Linked DNA regions of Homo sapiens: regions 1, 2, 3, 5, 6 and 7 are each linked to region 4. Evidence: promoter capture Hi-C in 16 types of primary human blood cells and fetal thymus (Javierre and others, 2016). All regions are on one chromosome and are shown on one strand. The core of a region is centred on a gene start or on the middle of the fragment in contact, and the rest is flanking DNA. Distances in the headings are between cores, read along the strand shown. Region 1 holds the start of LOC105375456 (a long non-coding RNA gene). Region 2 overlaps POT1 (protection of telomeres 1). Region 3 overlaps IFRD1 (interferon related developmental regulator 1). Region 4 holds the start of LSM8 (LSM8 homolog, U6 small nuclear RNA associated). Region 5 overlaps IMMP2L (inner mitochondrial membrane peptidase subunit 2). Region 6 holds the start of NDUFA5 (NADH:ubiquinone oxidoreductase subunit A5). Region 7 holds the start of IQUB (IQ motif and ubiquitin domain containing).

Region 1 (3,785 bases), core at 759-3,258, 5.8 Mb before region 4:
ACTGCTTACTTCTCAGGATCGTCGTGAAGGCCTCATAAAATAATATGTGGACAGTGCCTTGAAAAGCAGCAACCCCATGTAAATGTCTGTCTTGTTACTTATCCTAGGTCTATGTAGATTGTTTGGGAGCACAGTGGTTCTCACACTTGTCAAGAAATCAGACTATTTTCTCCTTTGTGGAGCAAACTGCTTCTACTTCAAGTCTTGGCTTAGAGGTCACTCCTGTAGGAAAACTTCCCTGATCCCCCTCACTCCGAATAATTGTGTTAGGTGCCCCTTCGACACCCTCCCCAGCACACCATACCCGGTGCCCGGTGTTCCTATTCCTTATCATTGCAGTTATGTATGTATTGTCAGCATTTGCTTACTTGTCTGATTTTGAGATCCTTGAAGACAAGAATAACTGTGTCTGGGGTCACCTCTATGTCCTTAGCACTTATTTCAATGTCTAGCACATAGCACGTGCTCAAGAAATATTTGCTTAATAAAGTCCAGATTCAAAGAGCCCACTCCCACTGGATATATTCACTCCAACGATATTTCAGAAGCTTCTCATTCTTACTATCTTCAAACTGGAACTGGTTCTAACCGGTTATCTAACTTATCTAACTTATTACTTATTTAACTCAGCTGATTTAGCTTTCTAATTTATTTCTTATTGCTCTCGTTGCTCCCACTCACTTTGTTCTATGCTGTTCTCCCAATATACCAGGCACGCGTCTGCCTCAGAGCCACCGGGCACGCGTCCGCCTCAGAAACACCGGGCACGCGCCCGCCTCAGAAACACCGGGCACGCGTCCGCCTCTGAAACACTGGGCCCGCGGCTGCCTCAGAAACACCGGGCACGCGCCCGCCTTAGAGCCACCGGGCATGCGCCCGCCTCAGAAACACCGGGCACGCGTCCGCCTCTGAAACACTGGGCCCGCGGCTGCCTCAGAAACACCGGGCACGTGCCCGCCTTAGAGCCACCGGGCATGCGTCCGCCTCTGAAACACCGGGCACGCGTCCGCCTCTGAAACACCGGGCCCGCGGCTGCCTCTGAAACACCGGGCACGCGCCCGCCTCAGAAACACCGGGCACGCGTCCGCCTCTGAAACACCGGGCCCGCGGCTGCCTCAGAAACACCGGGCACGCGCCCGCCTTAGAGCCACCGGGCATGCGCCCGCCTCAGAAACACCGGGCACGCGTCCGCCTCTGAAACACTGGGCCCGCGGCTGCCTCAGAAACACCGGGCACGCGCCCGCCTTAGAGCCACCGGGCATGCGTCCGCCTCTGAAACACCGGGCACGCGTCCGCCTCTGAAACACCGGGCCCGCGGCTGCCTCAGAAACACCGGGCACGCGCCCGCCTTAGAGCCACCGGGCACGCGCCCGCCTCAGAAACACCGGGCATGCGTCCGCCTCTGAAACACCGGGCCCGCGGCTGCCTCAGAAACACCGGGCACGCGCCCGCCTTAGAGCCACCGGGCATGCGCCCGCCTCAGAAACACCGGGCACGCGTCTACCTTAGAACCACCAGGCACGCGGCTGCCTCAGCACCACCAGCCATGCTTCTACCTCAGAACCTTTGCATTTGCTGTTCCCTCTTCCTGGAACACTATTCTATGTCCACATGGCTTTCTTCCTCATTTCCTTCAGGGATTTGCTCAAATATTCTGTTTTTAGTGAGGCTTCCCCTGAATATCTTTTAAAAAATAAAAATCACTCTCCCTCAGGCCTTCCTGATCCTCTCTTCCAATCTTATTTTTCTTCATTGAAATTTTTTTTTTTGAGACAGAGTTTCTCTCTGTCGCCAAGGCTGGAGAGCAGTGGCACAATCACAGCTCACTGCAGACTCAACCTTCTGGGCTCAAGTGATCCTTCTCTCAACCTCCCAAGTAGCTGGGTCCACAGACACGTGCCATCATGCCCGGTTATCTTTTATTTTTATTTTTTTGAATAGACGATGTATCACCATGTTGCCCAGGCTTCTCACAAACTCCCCCCGAGTGATCCGCCCGCCTTGGCCTTCCAAAATGCTGGGGTTACATGTGTGAGCCACCGTGCCCGGCTCCTCCGTCCCTTACCCTTTCACATGCTGTGTAGTTGTTTACCTGTTATCTGTCTCCACTCACTAACTTACAAGCTCCATAAGAGCAGGGATTTTTGTCAGTTTTGTTGGCTGCTTTAGAATAGTGCCTGGCACAGGCCGCGCGCGGTGGCTCACGCCTGTAATCCCAGCACTTTGGGAGGCCGAGGAGGGTGGATCACGAGGTCAGGAGATCGAGACCATCCTGGCTAACACGGTGAAACCCTGTCTCTACTAATAATACAAAAAAAAATTAGCCGGGCATGGTGGCAGGCGCCTGTTGTCCCAGCTACTGGGGAGGCTGAGGCAGGAGAATGGCGTGAACCCGGGAGGCGGAGCTTGCAGTGAGCCGAGATCGCGCCACTGCACTCCAGCCTGGGCGACAGAGCTAGACTCTGTTTCAAAAAAAAAAAAAAAAAAGGAATAGTGCCTGGCACATAATAGGCATTCAGTAAATATTGTTTGAATGAATAAATCTTAAACAGAGTGTGTGATATAAAATGTAAGATTTCCTTTATGACTTGGGGTCATCTACATCTAGCTGGGCATTCCTGACCACCCGTCCTTCTATTCTCATCCAAGCAGAGTTCTTCACTTTCTCCTCTTTATTACTCCTGTTCCTTACACGTTTTTATAGTTAGACTCATCACACTGAATTCTAATTTATTTATAAATATGTTTGCTTTCCTCCCCTTGCTGTAGGCTCCTTGGGGTAGTAACTGCATTTAAACTATTTCTAAATCCTCAGTATCCTGAACAGCGTCTGGAACTTTGCGGGCACCAGTGAAATGTCAGTTGGAACGTATTGCCCATACCTAAAAGAGCAGGTGCAGATACAGTGTGGGAGGTAGGGGTGACTGATTTCGTTTGTTGTTCTGCTGTGTGCAGTTAATGTCCCTGATATAGTTTGGATACTTGTCCCCACCCAAATCTCATGTCAAAATATAATCCCCAGTGTTGGAGGTGGCCGCTGGTGGGAGGGTGATTAGATCATGAGGACGGATTTCTCATGAATGCTCTAACACCGTCCCCTTGGTGCTGTTCTTGCAATAGTGACTGAGTTTTCGTGAGATCTGGTTGTTTAAAAGTGTGTGGCACCTCCTCACCTCTCTCTTGCTCCTGCTCCCTCTTCATCTTCTGTCATGATTGTGAGATGCTGGCGCTATGCTTCCTGTAGAGCCTGCGGAACTGTAAGCCAATTAAACCTCTTTTCTTAGAAATTATCCAGCCTCAGATATTTCTTTATAGCAATGCAAGCATGGCATAATGCAATTCCCATCCCTTTCCCTCAGATTACTGAATCCTAGGATCAGAGAATCTCTGCTTGGTATGTGGAAGTCCTCAGGAAGAATGAGAAACTGTTGATCCATCTCCCCCACCTTCAGCTCCCTCTACATGGAACAAGCTTCTAGCATCCCACCTGTGAGAGCAAAGAGCCAAGGTGGCAGCTCCTTGCCCTCCAATTTGCCTCTTCCTCCTCTGCTCACATTACCCCAGCTCCATCCAAGGCTGCTGATAGGACTGGTTGGTCCCCTGCCTGCTTCCCTTCTTTCTTTCTTAATGTAAAATCCTCAGTGCTCTGCCCTAAGCCCTTTTCCTTTCTCATATGATCTTCCTTTGATGGTCTTTTTTTTTTTTTTTTTTTTTTGAGATAGAGTCTTGCCCTGTTGCCTAGGCTGGAGGGCAGTGGCGCCATCTCGGCTCACTGCAACCTCTGC
Region 2 (3,510 bases), core at 487-2,986, 6.7 Mb after region 4:
ACAGATACTTAAAATACCAAACCATAAGTAAGTTGAAAAAGAAAGGAAATGTTCATACACTCAATATAAGGGCCACACTACCACAGGCACCCAAAATCAAAGCCAAAGTATCTTAACCAACAACATACATACATCTTCAGAAAACATTTCTTTGCTACAAATGCAATTTCAAAAAAAATAGAACAAGCAATTGCTACACTAGATGCACAGATATCAAAGGAAGGGCACAGGAAACATGAAAAAGCAGGGAAATATGATATCACCAAAAGACCACAACAATTATCTAGCAATATATATCAATTAAAAAAAATTCCTCGAAATGCCAGATAAAGAATTCAAAATAGTGATTTTAAAGAAGTTTAATGAGATTCAAGAGAAATCTGAAAACCAATACAAAGAAATCAGAAAATGAATTCTGTTTATGAATGAGAGATTTACCAATGAGACAGACATCTTTAAAAAAAGAAAAGAAAACGGAAACCATGAATTAAAAAATTGAAGAAAATACAAAATATATTCAAAAGATTCAATAACAGATTAGATCAAGCAAAAGAAAGAATCTCAGAACCTGAAGACAGAACGAAATTTTGAAATAATGCGGTCAGGCAAAAATAGGAAAAAGCATAAAAAGGAATGAGCAAAGCCATTTGAGATGTCCAGGACTACATAAAGCAAACAAACATATGAATTATCAGTATTCCTAAGGGGGAAGAGAGATTAGAAAGTTAAAAAAACCTATTTAAGGAAATAATCAATGAAAACTTCCTAAGTCTAGCAAGAGCATCAGACATCCAGATACAGGAGGCCCAGCTATCCCCAGGAAAATACACTGCAAAAAGGACTTCATCATACACATTATATTCAGAATGTGTAAAGTCAAAGTTAAAAAAAAAAAAATCTTAAAATTACCAAGAGAAAAGCATCTATCTAGTCACCTATAAAGAAAACATTATAAAACTAACTGGACTTTTCAGCAGAAATCTTACAGGCCAGAAGAGAAAGAATAACATTTTCCAAGTGCTCAAACAAACAAACAAACAAACAAAAAAACTGTAAGCCAAAATTTTATATCCTGCCAGAATAAGCTTAATAAATAAAAGAGATATAAAAAATTTCCCAGATAAGCAAACAACGCGGGACTCAGTAGTGAAAAAAAGTAGAAAGATCACAAATTAACACACTAGCATCACACCTCAATGAAACCAGAAAAACAAGAACAAACGAAAGTCAGAGTTAGCAGAAGCAAAGAAATAACAAAGATCAGAGCAGAACTAAATGAACAAAAATCCAAAAAAAAAAAAACCCAAAGGATCAATGAAAAAAAAGTTGGTTATTTAAAGAGAGAAACAAAATTGATGAACTACCAGCTAGACTAACCAAGAAAAGGAGAGAAAAGATCCAAATAAAATCAGAGAGGAAAAAAGAGACATTACAACTGATACCACAGAAATTCTAAAGGTAATTAGAGACTACTATGTATAACTATATGCCCATAAACTAGAAAACCAAGAGAAAATGGATAAATTGCTGGAAACATACAGCCTCCCAAGACTGACCCAGGAAGAAAGAGAATTCCTGAACAGATCAATGATGACAGCAAGACTGTATCAGTAATAAAAAAATCCCAATAAAAGAAAGTCCAGGACCAGATGGATTCACAGCCTAGATGTACAAAACACAAAAAGAACTAACACCAATCCACCTGAAACTATTCCAAAACTACTGAGGAGGGAATTCTCCCTAACTCATTCTACAAGGTATCACCCTGATATCAAAACCAGACAAAGAACACAAAAACAAAAACTACAGACTAGTATCTCTGATGACATCGATGCAAAATTATTAACAAAATACTAGCAAATTGAATCCAACAGCATGTCAAAAAGATCATACACCATGATCAAGTGAGATTTATCTCAGGGACGCAAGAATAGTTCAACATACGCAAATCAGTAAGTGTTATACATCACATAAACAGAATTAAGGACAAAAACCAGATGATCATCCCAACAGATGAAGAAAAAGCATTTGATAAAATTCATCTTCCATTCATGACAAAAATCCTCAACAAACTAGATAGAGAAGGAACATCCCTCAACATAATAAAGGTCATGTATGACAAATCCACAGCCAACATAATACTGAATTGGGGAAAAGTTGAAAAGATTCCCTCTAAGAATTGGAACAAGATAAGGATACCCACTTTCACCACTCTTACTCAATATAGTACTGCAAGTCCTAGCCAGAACAATGAGGCAAGGGAAAAAAACAAAAGGCATCCAAATTGGGAAAGAAGTAGCAAATTATCATAGTTGGCTAATGATATGATCTTGTATACAGAAAGCCCTCAAGACTCCACCAAAAATCTCTTAGGTTGGTAAATTAAGTAAAGCTTCAGGATACAAAATCAATGTACAAAAATCAGTAATGTTTCTATACATCAATAAAAATCTAGCTGAGTACCAAATCAAGAATGCAATCCCATTTACAACAGCTACAAAAATAAAATAAAATGCCTAGGAATATATTTAACTAACAAGGTGAAAGATCTCTGCAAGGAAAACTACAAAGGACGGATGAAATAAATTGTAAACAACATAAAAAAATGGAAAAACATCCCATGCTCGTGGATCAGAAGAATTAATATTATTAAAATGAACATACTTCCCAAAGCTACAGATTCAATGCAATCCTTATCAAATTACTGATGTCATTCTTCACAGAATTAGAAAAAAACAATTCTAAAGTTCATATGGAACCAAAAAAGAACCCAAATTGCCAAAGCAATCCTAATCAAAAAGAACAATGCTGGAGGTACACGTTGCCTCACTTCAAAATGTATTACAAGGCTACAGCAACCAAAATAGCATGGTACTAGTATAAAAATAGACACACAGATAAATGGAACAAAATAGAGAAACCAGAAATAAAGTCAAATACTTACAGCCAACTGATCTATGACAAAGATGGCAAGAACACTACACTGGGGAGAAGACACACTTTTCAATTAATGGTGCTGGGAAAACGGGATTGCCACATGCAGAAGAGTGAAACTGGAACGTATATGTCACCATACACGAAAATAAACTTAAGACGGATTAAAGATTTGAATGTAAGACCCAAAACTATAAAAATATAGAAGAAAACCTAGGAAAAACTCTTCTAGATATTGGTTTAGGCAAACAATTCATGACTAAGACCTCAAAAGCACAGGCAATAAAAACACAAATAGACAAATGAAACTTAATTAAGCTAAAAAGCTTCTGTGCTACAAAAGAAATAACAGAATGAACAATCTCAGGAATGAGAGAAAATATTTGCAAACTATACATTCAACAGAGGACTAATATCCAGAATTTACAAGGGACTCAACCAAAAAACCCCCAAATAAGCCCATTAAAAAGTGGGCTAAGGACATGAACATTTTTCAGAAGAAGATAAACAAATAGCCAACAAGCACATGATAAAATGTTCAATATAACTAATCATCAGTAAAATGCAGATTAAAAC
Region 3 (3,453 bases), core at 954-3,453, 5.7 Mb before region 4:
TACATCAAAGCCTGGAGCATGGGGTTTCAAAAATGGTAAATGCTATTTTGTCATTGATCAAATTTGGGAAATAACTGTCTTAGTAAGTTAGTCTACTGAAAAGACTATCGTGATTGCATCTTGGCTGCTTTTATAGGTAAGAGTGATGAGCAACGTGCAGCTGCAGCGTTAGCATCTGTTCTTTGTATTCAGCTGGGCCCTGGAATTGAAAGTGAAGAGATTTTGAAAACTCTTGGACCAATCCTAAAGAAAATCATTTGTGATGGGTCAGCTAGTATGCAGGCTAGGCAAACTGTAAGTATAAGATATTTACATTTATAGATCTGTCTATTCATGACACCCAGACGTGGTGCGCCTATAGTACTGTACCAGCTACTCAAGAGGCTGAGGCAAGAGAGAGGATCTTGTAAGTCCAGGAGTTTGAGGCAGCGGTGAGCTATAATCATGCCACTGAACTGTAGCCTGGGAGACAAAGCTACACACTGTATTTTAACAACAACAACAAAAAAGATAATTCTATATTTATGGATTTGGGTAGACATAGGAAACTGAAATTCTGATTTGTGAAAGTCTTCTAATTTTGGGGTTTGAGAAAGCTTTCATTCTCTAATTGTTGGATGTTTACCTCTTGCAACACTTGACTTTAGATTTTGGGTTTTGGGGGTTTTATTTTTTGTTTTTGGTGCGGTAATAAGTGATACAAGTGATCATATGGAGATGTTTTACTGTGTCACAGAAAACAGAAGACACTGAGGTGGTCTTAGTGGATTTGGAAAAATAACATGTGATCCTAAGCTGTTTTTTTAAACAAGTGAATCAGTTTAAGCTTGAAACATTTTAATACTTTTAATATTTATTATCCAAATCCAGCTTCCTTGTTAGTATTACTTAAGGTAAGTAATAATGTTACTTAAGGTAAGTAACATTAATCTTTGTCTAAGTAGCTTGGTAAAAATTTATTTCTTCTTCTTATCATCACCACCCAATGTAAATTGGCTGGAACCCCAGGCCTCCACTGCAGCTCTGCCCACCTCTAGGTTCTCTCGATATGGCAGCCAGGGTAGCTAGGTGACAGACTCAGCCAGAGCACATCACTTTTGCATCTAGTTCCTTGGCTTACCAGCCACCTGGAGGCTGGGAATAGTCTAGCTGTTTGCCCTGGAGGCAAAGAAATTGGAGTTTGGCAACTTCATAGTAATCTCTGTGCCCTCCAGTAGTTAGTAATTCTGAAATATTTAATTAGCTTTTGCTACTTAACTTTTTCTTTTCTTCTTTTTGGGTGAATATGTGCAGCTTTTAAATCATGTGGAACTATTGGTATAATTTCATGCTAGAATGACAGAAAACACTCTGCTGGGTAGATTTTTGGAGCAGTCACTTAATTTTGATTGTATGTAAGTTTTTTTGTCATTTAAAGACTTTTTTTTCCATACTTCCAAGTTGCTGTGAATTTTTAAAAAACCTTAGCCTCCCCATTTAGCAGATGGAATCCATATTAAATTGAGGCAGTCCTAGGGTTTTTTTTTTTTTTTTTTTTTTTGACAAGGTCTCACTCTGTTACCCAGGCTGGAGTACAGTAGCACAATCATGGCTCACTGCAGCCTCCACCTCCTGGGCTCAGGTTATCCTCCTGCCTCAGCCTCCTGAGTAGCTGGGACTATAGGCATGTACCACCATGTCTGGCTCGCTTTTAATATTTTGTAGAGATGGGTCTTGCTGTATTGCCCAGGCTGGCCTTGAGCTCCTGGGCTCAAGTGATCCTCCTGCTTTGGTCTCTCAAAAGTGTTGAGATTATGGGTGTGAGCCACCGCACCCAGCCAGTCCTAGTTCTTTAATTGGCTGTTTTTCTTAGAGTCATCAAAAGGAACGATGTAGCCTTGCTTCTGCTGCTTGCTTAGCAGTAGGGATTATGGATTGAAAATTTCCTTTAATGCTTAGGCTACTTTTAGATTTTAACAGTGTCCAATTTTTACTAGGATGATATAATGACAATAAAATAGTGATACCAAGCAGATTAATATCACAGATATCCTCATAGTACTGGAACAGACTGGCTAAAACCTGGGCCTGATACCAATGGTGACTTTAAAGACTTAAAGCTTTAATAATGCTTAGAACAACATGAGGGAATTTTAGTGACAAAATGTGGAGAAAGGGGAAATGGAGAATAATAAAATCTCAGATTACAAATTCTATTTTTATATGGATTAATTTGTTAAAACAAATGTTCTGAGAATTGAAGGCTTCTGTTTATGTTGCAAGTAGATGGCTTGTGTAAGTGTTGTGTTCTGAGTATGTTTTATTCGATAAGCTTTACCTTTGTAATCATATACTATACTCACTTTTGTTTAGCCCTTCCCCTCCCCAAACAAAAGGCAATTATATGATTCCCAGCCTCTTTTCAGCATAATCCAGAATAAGTGAAATCTGAGTTAATGGGATTAATTAATTAATTAGGTGGGAAGTTTGAAGACAATTATTTACATTTTATGAAATTTCTGCTCCTGTGTGCTTATTTCTTGGAAGCTGATTTCTTTTAGAAGTTTTCATAGTAGAGTCTTCATAAGAACAAAAGAATATAGTTGTAACAGCTTAAAAACCAATGGAATTGTAATGTGTTTTAAAGGCTTTTTGATAGAGGGTAGGCTTCTTTAGCTCATATGTCTAAGCTTTCTATCTTTGAATTACAGTTGAAGTTTAATGATCTAGTAAGCACCTGTAAAGCATACAGAAAGGAAACAAGGGGATAGTTCACCCTTTCAGAATGCTTTACTGACATAGACTCATAAAAATGATTCAATAATTTAAATTATAGATTATGGAGCTGCAATTGTTTCAGAAATTATGTAATTCTTTTGCATGCTTTTGATTTTATGGATCAATAAAAGAAGACTGAAGAGGAACAGAATCACTTTGTTAAAGTCATGCTGTGAATTTAGTAGCAGAGCTTGAGCTGAAACGCACTTCCTTTGATCTTAGTTCAATATTCTTTCTCTCCTCACCTCTTTTATGTATAATGTTTGGGACCTAATATATTATGCTGCTGAGAACATTTTCACGTTGAATTATAAAAGCAGGAAGATGTAGAATTAATAAGAAATAAAATCATTAATGTCTATATATATATATTTTTTTTTTTAGTGTGCAACTTGCTTTGGTGTTTGCTGTTTTATTGCCACAGATGACATTACTGTAAGTAAAAAACCTTTGATTCTAGTTATCTGCAGTTATTTCTAATTTAAGATGGTTATCTTACTTCATATTCTTATGCATTAGGAACTATACTCAACTCTGGAATGTTTGGAAAATATCTTCACTAAATCCTATCTCAAAGAGAAAGACACTACTGTTATTTGCAGCACTCCTAATACAGTGCTTCATATCAGCTCTCTTCTTGCATGGACACTACTGCTGACCATATGCCCAATCAATGAAGTGAAGAAAAAGCTTGAG
Region 4 (3,422 bases), core at 449-2,948:
TTCACCACGTTGGCCAGGATGGTGTTGATCTCTTGACCTTGTGATCCACCCGCTTTGGCCTCCCAAAGTGCTGGGATTACAGATGTTAGCAACTGCACCCGGCCTCATTTTTATAAGATCACACAGAGGTTTTTTTGTTTGTTTGTTTTTGAAATGGAGTTTCGCTTTTGTCGCCCAGGCTGGAGTGGAATGGCGTGATCTCAGCTCACTGTAACCTCCGCCTCCCGGGTTGAAGCAATTCTCCTGCCTCACCCTCCAGAGTAGCTGGGGTTACAGGAACCCACCAACATGCCCAGCAATTTCTTTTTTTAACAAAACTCCTAACACCTCGTTAATCATTAATTAGTCTTTGGGTTTTGGTTCAACACCTAACATTTGCAAATCACACAATTATCTTTGTTCTTTCATTAGCGGAAGACACTTTCATTTGTTACCCTGAGAATATGAGACATTCACAATCTAATTCCTGACTACATTTGATTTCAAACAGATAGGAATAAGTTCCAGAATATAAAATATTAACTATTTGGGAGTATCTTGTGGGTATGCTCTAATTAAGAAATGCTTCCTTTTCCGAGGAAAACTGCTGACATTGCAAGAGTTATTACAAAGCCACAAATCTTAAGAAAATACATGTTTAACTGAAATTATAAAGATATTTTGCAAAAAAGGGAAATCGCTCCTGCTGGTGTTTTGTGTATAAATCTCTTTCTAACTTCAAGCTCTCTCAAGTTAGGGCAACAGTAAATGAAGTGGGAACAGTATCGCATTGGGAAATATCTGAAATGATACCTATGGGACTATCTAACGAAACTGAGGCCCAGAAGAATTGAAGTGACCTGTGCAATGACACCAATTTGTTAGCAGAGCCAAGATTAGAACCAAGTTTGGTGCCTTCCTGCATCCTTCCTGCATCGGTCCTTTCTCGGTGCTGCAGCAGCCTTTTACTTACTAATTTCACCCTGAAGAAAGGTAGACCATCCTGGCGTGGCAGAAGCGTGGACATTCGTTTTCTAAGGGATGGTCACACACCTTTGCCTATTTGCATTTAGTTTCTTTAAAAAGTAAAAACACCTCCATTTTGGAACACTTTTAGAGACAAAAGCAGAACATACGAAAGTGTATTTCACTGCTGAGTTCTTAAGAGGCGTACACCGTGTGGTTATAACGTGCGCAACTCTGTCCCGGGCAACTGAACTTATTTTTAGCGTTATTTTCGGCTTCTGCTGCAGAAAACTAGGGATTCAACTACCCGCACCTACGTTTCACACAACAGCACTCGTCTCTCTCCTTCACTCCTAATAAAAACACCTTACTTCGTTTATTCCTGCCTGCTCTACCTCGTCTCAACATTTTCTCTTGTTAACTTCCACCACACTGCCTTTTACTCGGATTGGAAACCCACTCTCCCCCAACTTCTGTCTCATACCCCCAACTTCTGTCTCATACCCCCAACTTCAGGAAGCGTCTTCCTTTTTTCCGCCTCTCGTTCGCTTTTGTCTTACGAGGCTTCCGGAACACGGCCCAGAATTACAGAGAAAACACACTGCGCACGCGCACTCTCTCGTCACCGCTGTGCGGCTTCTGTTTGGTTGGCCAGTTCGTCCCAATTTCCGACTCACAGGGCTGCGGAGCAGCAACTCTCACGATATTTGCTGCGACCCGCAGGCGCTATCCGCTGCCGGGTTCTGGCGCGCCCTTTCAGTTCTGCTTGCTGTCGGCACCGCTGCGTTACCCGGAACCGCCGGGCCGAACAGCATGACGTCCGCTTTGGAGAACTACATCAACCGTATCCTCAAGCTGGCCGCCGCGGGCGTGAGCCGGGGTCGCGGAGAGGCCGCGGTCGGGGATCGGTGGGAGGTTGGGAGGCCTGGCCTCGGCGGGATCCTGGGGGCGGGCGAGGAGATGAGGGCCCCGGAACGACCCAGAGTTCGCCGGCGGCGCCTCGAGCCTTCCCGCTGCTGCGGGCCCAGGGGTCCTTTCCATTTTGCCTGCAAAACCCAAATAAAAACCCAGTGTGATTATTCCGAACTTTTCTGTCTTAAAAAAAATGTACGCTCTTGATTCTTACTTACTATTTCCCTATGGCATAAGTGTTAAAGTTTGTGAATAAGATGAACAGTCGTCCTGGCGGCGACAACAGTTTTGCAAATCTTTGTACTTGTTTTATTCACATAATTTGCTCGTTCGAGGATAGCAAAAAGTTTAACGATGGTTCACAGACTGTTTCTGTCCCTTTACCACTTGAAGTCCCAACTTGTTGGTAGAATGAAAAAAAATGGTTGCTGTTGTAATGGATTATAGTGAGGAGCAAGTAACAACCCCATGGGAAGTCTTAAAATAGACTTTACAAGTGTTACCGTTTTAAAGTCTTAGGACAAAAACACTACGTTAAGCTCAGGTACAAACTGGGTGACAAAAATTAAATACCGAATGCTTTTAATGATGCGTTATTGGTACCCTGTGACACTGCTTATATAGTTTCTTTACTTTTGAATTACAGAAGCCTGTCCTGGAAGACAGTTTTTTAACATGCTGGAAAATCGTCCAACATCGATTAATTTAGTACTCATCCACTTTTCATTTTAGAAATAAACAGGCCTAAGAAACGAAATATCCTGCCTGAAATAATAGATTGGTAACCTTCCTAGTAGAAAAGTGTCAAAAATCCAGGATATTTTGAGATAAGATACACCGATCACATACAGAAAGAGGTTTTCTTTTTCTATTTTTTCCCTTTTTTAATCATGTAATTATCACAAAGACAAAAACAGAAGCTTTTTTTAAGTTTTTTTTTTTTTTTCTTTTTTTGAGTCGAGGGTCTCACTCTGTTGCCCAGGCTGGAGTGCAGTGGCTTGATCATGGCTCAATGCAACCTTGAACTCCTGAGCCCAAGCAATCCTCCTGCCTCTGCCTCTGCCTCCTGAGTAGCTGGGACTATAGGTCACCAGGCCAGGGTAATAGAGATGGGGGTATCGCTGTGTTGCCCAAGCTGGTCTCACCTCAAGTGATCCTCCTGCCTTGGCGTCTAAGAAACTTTTAACGTTTTTATGTAGTGAACTTAGTGGCTGTGTTGAATACTTATACCTAGTTGTCATATTTATTCTAAAAATTCAAATCATTCCCTTGCCAGAGTCTGTTTTCAATTTGCATTCCCTAAGAAACACTTTCTTTGATTCAGTTATCAGGAACTGTTGCCGTTATTACATCAGATGGGAGAATGATTGTGGTAAGTCTTTGGAATTTTCATTCTCTGCTTTCCTGTAGGTTTATTGGTTGCAAGTTTTATGTGAAACCTCTAATCTCTAATGCCTAGACAGCACATTACACCCGTAGTGCAATTTTATTATAATTCAGCTCTTTATCACTTTGCTGTCAATCCATGTTTTCCTCACTAATAAACATTGTGTGTTACCTACAAG
Region 5 (3,376 bases), core at 773-3,272, 6.6 Mb before region 4:
ATATGGTTATTCAGGTAGTATGAAGATGACAAAGAAAAAAACTTATTATTGGACTAAGTAGACATTAAGAAGGTAAGAGTTTCCAGCGGAACAGTTGACAAAGATCAACAGAGAAGCCAGAGAAAAAGATGGTTCTTTCTAGGAAACAAGTAATTCATTGATCTAAATTCATGGACTGAGCAAAAGACTGCCACCTTTCTCTCAGTTCACAACCCCTCTCCTTTGTCATTATTCTGCATGACCCCTTCTGAGTCCTCACTACCAAATCCCCAATACCATGGGTAGTTCCCCTCCAATGGAGCCACAGGTCCAGGCCAGTGACTTAATCTGGATGCAAGGGCAAGGGATAGAAGGGTATCTTTGTTCTTGTGTCTAGGACTTTGAGGAAAAATGAAACAACTATTTACTGAGAATTTATTTTACGGCAGATTCTGTGCCACATTACACTCACTCACTGAATTTCACAGTAATCATAAGTAATTATCCCATTTATAGATGAGGAATTTGTGTCCAAGGTCAACAGTTAAGCAATAACAGGCCCTGCCTGAAAACCTAAGAATGACAACCTCCAGAGCTTTTTCTATACCCCTCACTACCTCAAAATGGAGGGAGACGTGGTCCAGCCATTCTAGGTTGGCACTCAGGAGACACTTACCTCCAAAACACTATTATATATGTTGATTAGAGTCTACAGTACCACTAATATATAATAAGCACACAATGAGTTTAAAAAGCTTTCCTTAGTACCTTTAGGAAAGTAAGTACTAGATTTCCTGGGGTTCTGATCTGGAAATCTAAATGCTATTTATTCCTATAAGTACATTGTTAACTTTACAAACAACAGACTTGAAAATGAACTTGTGGAATACAATGGGTTCTTAAGTAAGGCTTTTCTTTAAGAATATTTTCTTGCTTCCACAAAAAATACAAAAGCCACCAAAGATAGAATGATTTTGCCTTGTTAACTTGTAAGAACAATGACACTAGAAGAAACCTATGGGAAATGTGCTTATCTGACCAGGTGCTCATTTTCGGTGGGCTGTCATTTGACTAAAACATCATACTAAACCCTACAGACCACAGCTTATGAGAGAAATGCCACAAACTATAGCAGTACAGTTAATATGCCTATAATCTACTGACAAAACATACTCCTCAGTAAAGTGAAACCAGATGTCTGGTGTGAAATCAGATGTCTGTGAACTTGTCTTTCTCAGTTTCCAGAGCAGTATCAGATATACTAAATACACAGCTAAGCTGTATATTAAATCCACAACTTGGCAAAATCATGACAGTTTGGACATGAAGCATCAGCATTTTTATTGTAATCCTTATAAACCAAAGACATTTCCAAAATGGAAATCCTAAGTTTAAGTACTCAGCTAAATACAGTAATATGTCTTTCTCACTTTAAGAATAGTGTCAGGGCTTTTTAAACACATTATAGAAATTCTTTCCCTTCATTTTTCAAGCTGACACTCTTTATCCAAGGCTGTGGAATGATCTGATAAGGCCACATCAGGTGTCAGTCCTCGTCCCAGAAATTCTAGGATCAGATACACCAGGTGAACCCCTGTGAAAAGCAAATCCCAGGGAGGCTTAACAGCTATAGGAAAGTTAGGCACTACATGGCTTTCCACAATCAAAAGGAAGATCATAGGAAAGTAATGGGTGACCACATAGAAAAACAGGGAGGGAAATTTAAAAGTAAGTACTTCTATGCCAGGCACTGTTTTTTCACACATTCTTTTATATATACTCTTTGTTCTGTTTTGATGGATAAGAAATCAAGCAGCAGAGAAATTTTAATGGCCCAAAGTGACACAGCTAATAAAATAAGAGCCAGAAATCAAGCTCATGTCCAAAAGACTGTAAAAGTCATGCTACTTCTACATGAAGTTGTGGGGTGGAGTGAGGAGGGGTGGTAAATAGCCAAGAAGAAGGAGAAAAAGAAAGAAATTTACAATTTTATCAAATAACAGTGAAATATATATATATAAAACATGTATTATGTTCCACATATGTTCCATATATAATACGCAGTTAAGATGTATACATGTTTAACATATACTTAAGCTGCATATTTAGTATGTGTATATATGGAACAAAAAGTTGAAGAAACAAGTATCAAATTGTTAAGTGGTCATCTGAAAGTGGACTCATAGGAAACTCACTTATTGCCTTTTATACCCTCCCAGATTTAATTCTAAATAACTTTTTTTTGACTTTTTATTACTCTTATAACCAGAAAAAGACAAAGAACTATTCTAGCTTAGATCTTTTAAATGAGGCTAAATGCACAGAAACCCATGCAAGTTAAAAATGGTCTACTTTCGAATTTATTTTTCTAAGTACATCATCCTTTACACTCTCCATGATTCCTAATATTAGGTCCTTCTTATGGAACAACTACAAAAGTTATCCTCATCTAATTATTATACTCGTACACTGGAAAATGACTATAACATTATTCATTATAGGAAACAAATCATCAAGGTCAGCCATCCTTGTAAGTTTATTACTGAAAGTACTAGAAAGGCGGAATAATAATTCTGTTCTCCCACAACACTGTATAGACCTGCAAACCACTATGATCAGTAGTACAGGGAAAGTCTTGTAAATTAACATGTAACTATTGAGAAAATCCACAAAACTGGTGAAAGGCCTACCCCAAAACAGCCATCTCCAATACAATCTCATCATTCTCACCATCCTACTTTTATCAAAGTGCTGATAAAAGTGCGTAGCACATGGTAAGAGAGAATTAGCTATTGAATCAATGAAGGAACCCATTATCAATAAACAATCACTTCCTGTTTTCCATAAATTATGTGGTCACCTATCACTTGAGCACAAACAAATAGGCACGTTCAGGACACAGGCAGCCAGTATCAGAATAGGCAGCCTATCACAGAGGGCAATTCTACTTTTCCTGTGTAAGAATCCAAGAATGCAGTTTTACTACATTCCTGCTTGTAGCTAATCTGAATTTCAACTAATTTAAAACGGTTATTTATATGTGACATATAGGATGCATAATGAGCTCCCAACCTTGTGAGAGGAGCTGTGTTTCATTTCACCATACAGGGGAGAGGGAAGCAGTGTATTAAAGAAGTGATAGAAAAGTCCCACAGAAGAACCAATGAAATAGACCACACTGAAAATCACAGTAAGCCTCAGAGAACTTCAGTGTCCTTTTTGGCAACTTTTCAAAAGTGAATGGAATGCTTGCCAGGAGGTACCAAGAGTGAAAGCCCAGAGAAAAAGGCCCAGCCTGGTCATCTCTCTCCCCTCAAAACATCTTCTTCTGTAAGCTTGAGAGATCCCAAAGAACTTCAACACTTGTAATCTTGTTACTAACTTTATGCTTTGGGGT
Region 6 (3,404 bases), core at 806-3,305, 5.4 Mb after region 4:
GTAGAGACATAACAAAATAAATCAGTAGAATAGTGAACCAGAGGGTCACAGTAAGAAACTTGTCTTTATTTAGAGTGAAATGGAAAGCCATTAGTTTTAAGGAAAGGAGAGATCTGACCTACCTCATATTTTAACAGACTAACTCTAGTAGCCTGGCTGGAAAAAAAGACCAAATGGAGGCTGTGACAAGCATTGAGAGGCAGTTAAGAAGTGAATGCAATTATCCACATCAGTGATGATGGTGACTGAGGAAGAGGGTAGTAGCAGAGGAGGTAGTGAGATGTTGTCAAAATCAAGATATATTTTGAAGGTGGAACCTAGAGGGTTTACTGAAATAACAAATGTGGAGTGTAAGAGAAAGGAAGGAATCAAAGATGATTTCAAGTTTCTGACCTGAGTCAAAATAATTGAGCTGCCATTAATTGAGATGAGCAAGACTGAGAGAAGAGCAGGTTTTAGGCAGAAGATCAGGAACCCCATTTTGGACATGTTAAGTTTGGGTTGCCTGTCTGACACATACAAATAGAGATGCCCACTAAGCAATTAAATATTCAGGACTTTTATAAAGGAAGAGGTCAGTGCTTTACATGGAAATCTGTTGTCAGTGTATAGGTGGTATTTAAAACCGTTCTCTATTTGGATTTGCTCTCTCTTGGTGACAGAGTACAGGTCCAAAAGAAAAGGTCCAAGAACTAAATCCTGACTAACTCAAATTTTAAAAGTGGGCATAAGAGAAATAACCAGAAAAAGAGAAAGCCAAAGAGTAGGGGGAAAAAATCAGGAGACTGGGGGAGTCCTGAAGCCCAGTAAAGAAAGCGCATGATGGAAAAAGTGTCAAATGTGTCAAAAAAAAAAAAACGCTGCTATTAGGTCAATGAAGGTGAGAAACATAAGCTGACCATTGGATTTGGCAACATGGAGATAACTGGTGAACTTGAAAAGAGCGTGATGGAAAAAGTGTCAAATGTGTCAAAAAACGCTGCTATTAGGTCAATGAAGGTGAGAAATATGAGCTGACCATTGGATTTGGCAGCATGGAGATAATTGGTGAACTTGAAAAACGCCAAGGGTGACTGAGTGCATTCAAGGGTGAATAAGAAAGAAATTGGAGAAAATAGAGATAACTCTTTTGAGTTATCTGTAAAGTGAAGCAAAGAAATGGTGTGATTATAGAAGGGACAAGAAGAATAAAAAAATTTTGTGGGTTTTTTTGATGAAAACATTCGTGAATACAGATGGAAAAGACCTAACAGAAGGAAAAGGGGGCAGTACCTTTAGTAAGCCTAAATATATGTAATCCAACGCACCTAAGCAGAAACGGTAAGGCAAGGAGAAAAGATGGAAAACGGAGATATAAATTTGAGATGGCGCTGACAGAAGCAAGCACAAGTGAAGCCATGAAAATGTCAAGGAAAAAGTCAACAAGAAAACTGGCTTAATAAAGAGGTCATGGCAAAAATAAATAAAAATGTGACATCGGATCAACGAAGTAGGTGGACAGCGCCCGTGTCTCAAGAGCTCACGCGGCTTGTAATTAAGGGCTTGAAACATCTGTATCCCGTTAACCCTGCAATAAGCAAAGTGACAGGAATTTAGTCTTCCTTGGGAATTCAAGAACGAAGAAAGAACAAAGGTACATACCTCGTGAGGAGTATTGCACACAGCCAATCCCACAAGGCCAGTGGTCTGTTCAAAAACAAAACACGATTCATGCTGTTTACTACGGTTTCCATACATCCAGCACGCTAAGGAAATACAAAACCACGAATCCCCCGGCTAAAACTGGTCTAAAGCCAGCTACTGGTCTCTCAGTCTCGCTTGTTTGGAGCTTTTTTCCTGACTCTCGGAGCGGAACCACTAACCTGCCCTACCCGGTAAGGCATGCAGAACGAGTCCCCGAAAAGCACCGCCGAGCCCGCGACAGTAGGGGTCAACACCCGCGGGAAGTAGGGCTATCGGACTGAGTCTACCCCCACAGTCTAAATTCCAACAGTGACCTCCATTCGTCTCACCTTCTTCAGCACACCCGCCATGACAGCGCCAACGACTCGGTGACGCACAACCCTTTGGGAACAATTCTCAGACCTGCTCAATCGACCACCGAGGTCGCCACTCTGTCACCCTGGAAACAGCTTAGCTCCACCCCTTCAGGATCGCCAAAGGAGCAAAGACTCTGCCCCGCCCATCTTAAAAGAGAAAAATTGACGCATGCGCGATGGGCATACAAGCCTAAAGCTAAGCTAGAAGACGATTGGGGAAAGAAAGGGTTTCCCAGCTGTCTGTTCCTGTTCCTGCCACTGCTGACGGCTTGCCCAAAGATTGAGGGAAACACTCCCAACTACCAAAAAACTCCAGTCGCTGTAGGAACCTGCACTGTGCTTAACCGTTGATGCATTCCTCAACCTTCCTTTCTCAGTTTAGTAAAATGAAAGTGATAACGGAGCTTGAGCATCCTCTGAATTGATCTCTCAACAGCAAGTTAGTTCTTCGCACAAGGATATCAGTATTCTCTGTGTCTTACGAACCAAAGCCCTATGGAGTGTGAGGTCATTTTCCATCGCTCTTTTCGATTTCACTGGCTGAAATACATCATCTTATTTCCAGATGAAATGATATCAGACCATACCACTTTTTCCTACCTCCACAAACACTGACCACTCACTATGTGTCAGTTACTGGGACATAATTTCTAAAATGGGATTTCACATCCTGGAATTCAAAGAATAATGAAGAAGGCGTGTATTAATAAATAATTTGGTAACTGTTCTAAAAGAAGTTGATGCAAAGTGTGATGGTACCAGGGAAAAGGAAATAACTAAAAAGCGTGGGTGACTTTCTAAAAAGTCAGTAGGAGAAAAGAACAAATTGAGAAAACACAAGTACAAAGGAAAAGAGGTTAAAAATGTATATATAAATTCCAGGTGATTTTATGTGATTGGAAAGGTGGGTTTGATTGTTAAGGTAAACTGGTTAAGATTATGAAAGGTGTTGTTTGCCATTATACAAAATTTGAATTTTACTTTTTAAGGAATGGGAACAATGAGAAGACTTTTAAGCTTCTAAGTGACACCATCAAATTTATGTTTCAGATATACAAACAACTTAGGCAACAGTTGAAGAGAATGAGTTGGAAGAGATGAGGCCTTTCATTAGAGGCATGAGACTAGAAAAAATGAAAGCTAAACCAAAAGCAAACAGAAGAAAGGAAATATTAAAGATTAGAAAAGAAGGAGACAGAATATCAATAAAGAAAATCAATGAAACCAGGAATTGGTTCCCTAAAAGGATCAACAAAATTGGCAAACCTTTAGTGAAACTAAGAAAAAAAAGAGAGAAGATTTAATACAAGCAAGAATAAAAGAACCATCACTAATAGCCTTGCTGAAATAAACAGGAATAAGAAG
Region 7 (3,526 bases), core at 62-2,561, 5.4 Mb after region 4:
GAATTAGAATGGACAAGTCAAAGGGCATACAGATCTTAATTTTGTTAAATTCCATCAAACTGTTTTCTATTATAGCCCCAAGAAGTTCCCCTTGACTGTTTCCTTACATCCTCATATTGTTTTATGAGTCCTAATAATTAAATATCCCTTTGTTGTGTGTTGCCCTTATATTTCCCATTGTATGTTTGATGTTGTTTTTCTCTTACTATATAAAAGTTTTAGATTGTTAGGTAGTGACATTTATCAATCTTTTTGCTTATGAGAGTTTCCAAATTTCCTGACATGCTTCGAAACACCTTCTCACAATGAAACATAAATACATAAATTCATCCATAAATGCATAAATGAGACAGATCTGTAAATATTGATAGAAAACAACTGGACACACAGTCTTAAGTGTAAAAGCCAATCACAGAAGAGTATGCACAATGTTACAGGTGTAACTACATATTTGCGTATGTCTAAAACACCTGTGGAAGGTGGCCTGGAGATGGGGAGAAATGGGTAGATGGAGGATTTTCACTCTTCATTCTTTTTACTATTCGAACTATTTTTTTATGTATTATCTATTCAAATGAAAATGTTTAAATCTTATTGTTTAAAAAGCAACCTCTATCATGTTTGCATACAAAAAAGTCTCCCTTTTCACCTACATTTCATTCCCTACCATTTAAAGCTTAACACATTTAGAATGTAGTATAATTAGTGAGGCAGGGATCCAGTATTGCCTTCTACCAAATAGATCTGTTGAATTTTTAGGTTTGTTAAGAGGCAAAGACCAAGGGTGGAGAGGAAGGAGTGAGAGTGCCAGGTGAGGAAAGTCTAAAATCTCTCGACTTAATATGAGAATGGTGGCCACGGAAGGCTAAGAGTCTCTAGTGCCAGGTGTGGGTTATACACACATCTTCTATGCAATTACCGTGACAAGCACCCAGGGTGTGAGGTGAGGTGTACCTCCTAGCTTGATGCTGCTGGTTCAAGTCCCAAATCAGAGAGGGGAAGCCAAAAAAGGAGCCGAGAAAGATGAGATGCTTCGCACGGTTTTTAAAGTAAAGTCGGAACATTCCTGACCGACTAGGCAGCCCCAGGCGCTCAGGTGGGAATCACTGCCCAGCACACAGAACCCAGAGTCCAGCGCGGCTGTCACCGGCTCTAGGCTGGATCTAAGCGTCGGACCAGGAGGCCGCAGTCAAAATCTGTTCTCCTACCTGTGTACGAAACCAAACTATTCTCGTCGAAGTGCTTTCCCAGGCTCCTAAGACGCAGCTTCCATACTCGCCGCGTTCTCAGCTGTTGGTCGTATCCTAGCAACGGCCCTGGCACCACCTCTTCCTGCCGGAGCACGGCAGGGGTGGGAAGGAGAGGAGCCAGAGGCGGGTGGGGGGGAGGAGCCAGAAGAGGGCAGCGGGGAGGGGCCGGGAAGGAGGAGCGCGGCAGGGTAGGGGGAGGAGCCAAAGACTGGGGGCGGGGCCGGGAAGGAGGAGGGCGGCAGAAGAGAAGGGGATGAGCCAGAGGCGGGGAGGTGGGGCCGGGAAGGAGGAGTGCGGCAGGAGAGAAGAGGAGTAGCCAGAGGCGGAGGGGCGGTGTCGGGAAGGAGGAGCGCGGCAGGAAATAAGGGAAGGAGCTAGAGGCGGGCTGGGGGCCGGGGTCTGGAAGGAGGATCGCGGTAGGGAAGAAGAGGAGCCAGAGGAGGGGGATGGGGGCTGCAAAGGAGGAACGCGATAGGGAAAAGGGGGAGGAGCCAGAGGCGAGGGGGCGGGGAGAAGAAACATGGCAGGAGAAAGGGGAGGAGCCAGAGGCGAAGAGACAGGAAGAGGGACGCGTCAGGGAGAAGGGGAGGAGTCAGAGGCGAGCGGGCGTGGAGGAGGGAAGCGGCAGGGAGAAGGGGCGGGGCCAGAGGCGAAGGGGCGGGGAGGAGGGACGCGGCAGGGAGAAGGGGAGGAGCCAGAGGCGGAGGCTGTTACCAACTGGCTACCTAGATCCAAGTGAATCAGGACACTAACTTCTCTCCAAGATCTTTTACACTTGTGAAACGGCACAGCTCTCTAAACCAAACACTGACAGCAGTTTAATTTTACAGATATAAAAAAAATCCGAGTCAGAGAAATCATCACGATGAAGTCAGAGGCGAGAAACTGTCAGGTGCCTACTTGCTTTTGTTAAACTAACAACTTGGCTCTCAGCTTCCTGGCAGCCAAAGAGAAAAGGGAGATAGTAGCTATCAAATAATTCTGCTTAGAAGAACTTTTGTTAATCACTAAATTAGTTAATAAACTAAATTTTGTCTAACAACAAATTCTTTTTTTTTTTTTTTTTTCTAGTGTATACAGAGTCTTGCTCTGTCGCCCAGGTTGAAGTGCAGTGGTTCGATCTCGGCTCAATGCAACCTCTACCTCCCTGGCTCCCGCGATTCTCCTGCCTCAGCCTCCTGAGTAGCTGAGATTACAGGCGCCCGCCACCACCCCCGGCTAATTTTGGTATTTTTAGTAGAGATGGGGTTTCACCATGTTGGCCAGGCTGATCTGGAACTCCTAGCCTCAAGCAATCCGCCTTCAAAAGTGTTGGGGATTACAGGAGTGAGCCACCGCGCCCGGCCTATCAATGAATAAGAAAACTTTTAAAGAACCACAGGATAGTATTGGAGGTCAAGTCAAGTATGTTCCTCTTGGAAATTTAGTAACAAACTACATGTTGCTATCTCATAATAGCAGCTAACATTTATGAAGTATTCATTGTCATGAGGCACCGTACATAGATTTCTAATTTAATCCTTACAACGATTTTATTAGGGAGAAACTGCTATTAGACCCATTTTGTAAATGAGAAAACTAAGGCACACAAAGTTTAATGAGGGAACCAGGATTAAACCTAAGCAATCTAACTCCAGGTCCCAGATTTTTTAACCATTACAGTACTGTTTAATTTGATTTGATATGTTAAAAGGATTAATAAAATTAATACAGGTCCATTCCCTTATTCATAAATGTTCATTGTCTTCATTTATTTCTTTATACTGTTCTGCTGAAATTGCACTCTCATCTCCCCAATAACTTTGTAATATCCAATGCCATTTTTTTCAGTCATCCCATTTTAAAATATATTTTTACTAGAATAGTGAAATATATATTCAGATAAAATTGGCTTTGTTTTAATAATGATCAGTAAAAGTAAATTCATTTTAATCATTTCCACACATTCATGAAAAGTAAAGGGGAAAAATGGGCATAGAGGTAACCACTAGAATTAGGCTTTCTTGGATGGGTAGACCAGGTGTGGAGGTGTGCAGATAAGATTTTACAAACACTCATACACTCCCATCTCCAAAATCATAATTTATCTTACATTCTGCTACTAATAAACATTCCACTGGTTTTAAACATTCACTTTGCTGGGTCTCCTCTTTAAAATTTGTCATTCACTGTTCTCAATGTTAGAGACGGTATGCAAACAGTAGGTTTAGGAATAGAGTCAGGAGATGGGGGAAGAAAAACTGGTAGGAGAGAACTTAAGTGTCTCACAGTGTTAA

Evidence for each region. The method cuts DNA at HindIII sites, captures the fragments that hold promoters and counts their contacts. A CHiCAGO score of 5 or more calls a contact.
Region 1: a fragment that was not itself captured here is called in contact with the fragment with the promoter of LSM8 in region 4 in 1 of 17 cell types (naive CD8 T cells); the score reaches 6.4 in naive CD8 T cells.
Region 2: a contact is called between a fragment that was not itself captured here and the fragment with the promoter of LSM8 in region 4, in 1 of 17 cell types (total B cells). The highest score is 5.1, in total B cells.
Region 3: a contact is called between a fragment that was not itself captured here and the fragment with the promoter of LSM8 in region 4, in 1 of 17 cell types (naive CD4 T cells). The highest score is 5.0, in naive CD4 T cells.
Region 5: a fragment that was not itself captured here is called in contact with the fragment with the promoter of LSM8 in region 4 in 1 of 17 cell types (total CD8 T cells); the score reaches 6.0 in total CD8 T cells.
Region 6: a contact is called between the fragment with the promoter of NDUFA5 here and the fragment with the promoter of LSM8 in region 4, in 2 of 17 cell types (total B cells and total CD8 T cells). The highest score is 16.6, in total B cells.
Region 7: the fragment with the promoter of IQUB here is called in contact with the fragment with the promoter of LSM8 in region 4 in 2 of 17 cell types (total B cells and non-activated CD4 T cells); the score reaches 6.9 in total B cells.

What each region holds. Positions count from the first base shown.
Region 1 is chr7:112,390,602-112,394,386 of GRCh38, forward strand. It overlaps LOC105375456 (a long non-coding RNA gene), which reads right to left and starts at 736. Exons shown (of 3, transcript XR_927870.3): 1 at 682-736. RefSeq lists an enhancer at 1,667-2,176. The HindIII fragment of the contact is 2,924 bases long and covers 547-3,470 here.
Region 2 is chr7:124,922,868-124,926,377 of GRCh38, forward strand. The region is part of intron 2 of POT1 (protection of telomeres 1); the gene reads right to left. Among named protein-coding and RNA genes, the nearest start is that of POT1, 5.2 kb to the right of the region's middle. The HindIII fragment of the contact is 1,307 bases long and covers 1,084-2,390 here.
Region 3 is chr7:112,458,725-112,462,177 of GRCh38, forward strand. IFRD1 (interferon related developmental regulator 1) reads left to right here. Exons shown (of 12, transcript NM_001550.4): 5 at 137-294; 6 at 3,142-3,192; 7 at 3,277-3,453. Among named protein-coding and RNA genes, the nearest start is that of IFRD1, 10 kb to the left of the region's middle. The HindIII fragment of the contact is 212 bases long and covers 2,098-2,309 here.
Region 4 is chr7:118,182,466-118,185,887 of GRCh38, forward strand. LSM8 (LSM8 homolog, U6 small nuclear RNA associated) reads left to right here and starts at 1,699. Exons shown (of 4, transcript NM_016200.5): 1 at 1,699-1,789; 2 at 3,189-3,229. The coding sequence starts at 1,759. LOC105375470 (a long non-coding RNA gene) reads right to left here and starts at 1,503. Exons shown (of 4, transcript XR_927904.3): 1 at 1,450-1,503. The HindIII fragment of the contact is 4,305 bases long and covers 1-2,775 here.
Region 5 is chr7:111,558,021-111,561,396 of GRCh38, forward strand. All of the region lies in intron 1 of IMMP2L (inner mitochondrial membrane peptidase subunit 2), which reads right to left. Among named protein-coding and RNA genes, the nearest start is that of IMMP2L, 2.8 kb to the right of the region's middle. The HindIII fragment of the contact is 2,580 bases long and covers 733-3,312 here.
Region 6 is chr7:123,555,763-123,559,166 of GRCh38, forward strand. It overlaps NDUFA5 (NADH:ubiquinone oxidoreductase subunit A5), which reads right to left and starts at 2,056. Exons shown (of 5, transcript NM_005000.5): 1 at 2,013-2,056; 2 at 1,642-1,686. The coding sequence starts at 2,033. RefSeq lists enhancers at 1,186-1,764, 1,329-2,528, 1,765-2,343, 2,084-2,133, 2,394-2,533. The HindIII fragment of the contact is 10,047 bases long and covers 1-3,054 here.
Region 7 is chr7:123,533,284-123,536,809 of GRCh38, forward strand. It overlaps IQUB (IQ motif and ubiquitin domain containing), which reads right to left and starts at 1,312. Exons shown (of 13, transcript NM_178827.5): 1 at 1,209-1,312. It overlaps LOC124901740 (a long non-coding RNA gene), which reads left to right and starts at 1,248. Exons shown (of 2, transcript XR_007060507.1): 1 at 1,248-2,142; 2 at 2,322-2,976. RefSeq lists silencers at 1,379-1,608, 1,629-1,778, 1,859-1,988 and an enhancer at 2,059-2,198. The HindIII fragment of the contact is 3,094 bases long and covers 675-3,526 here.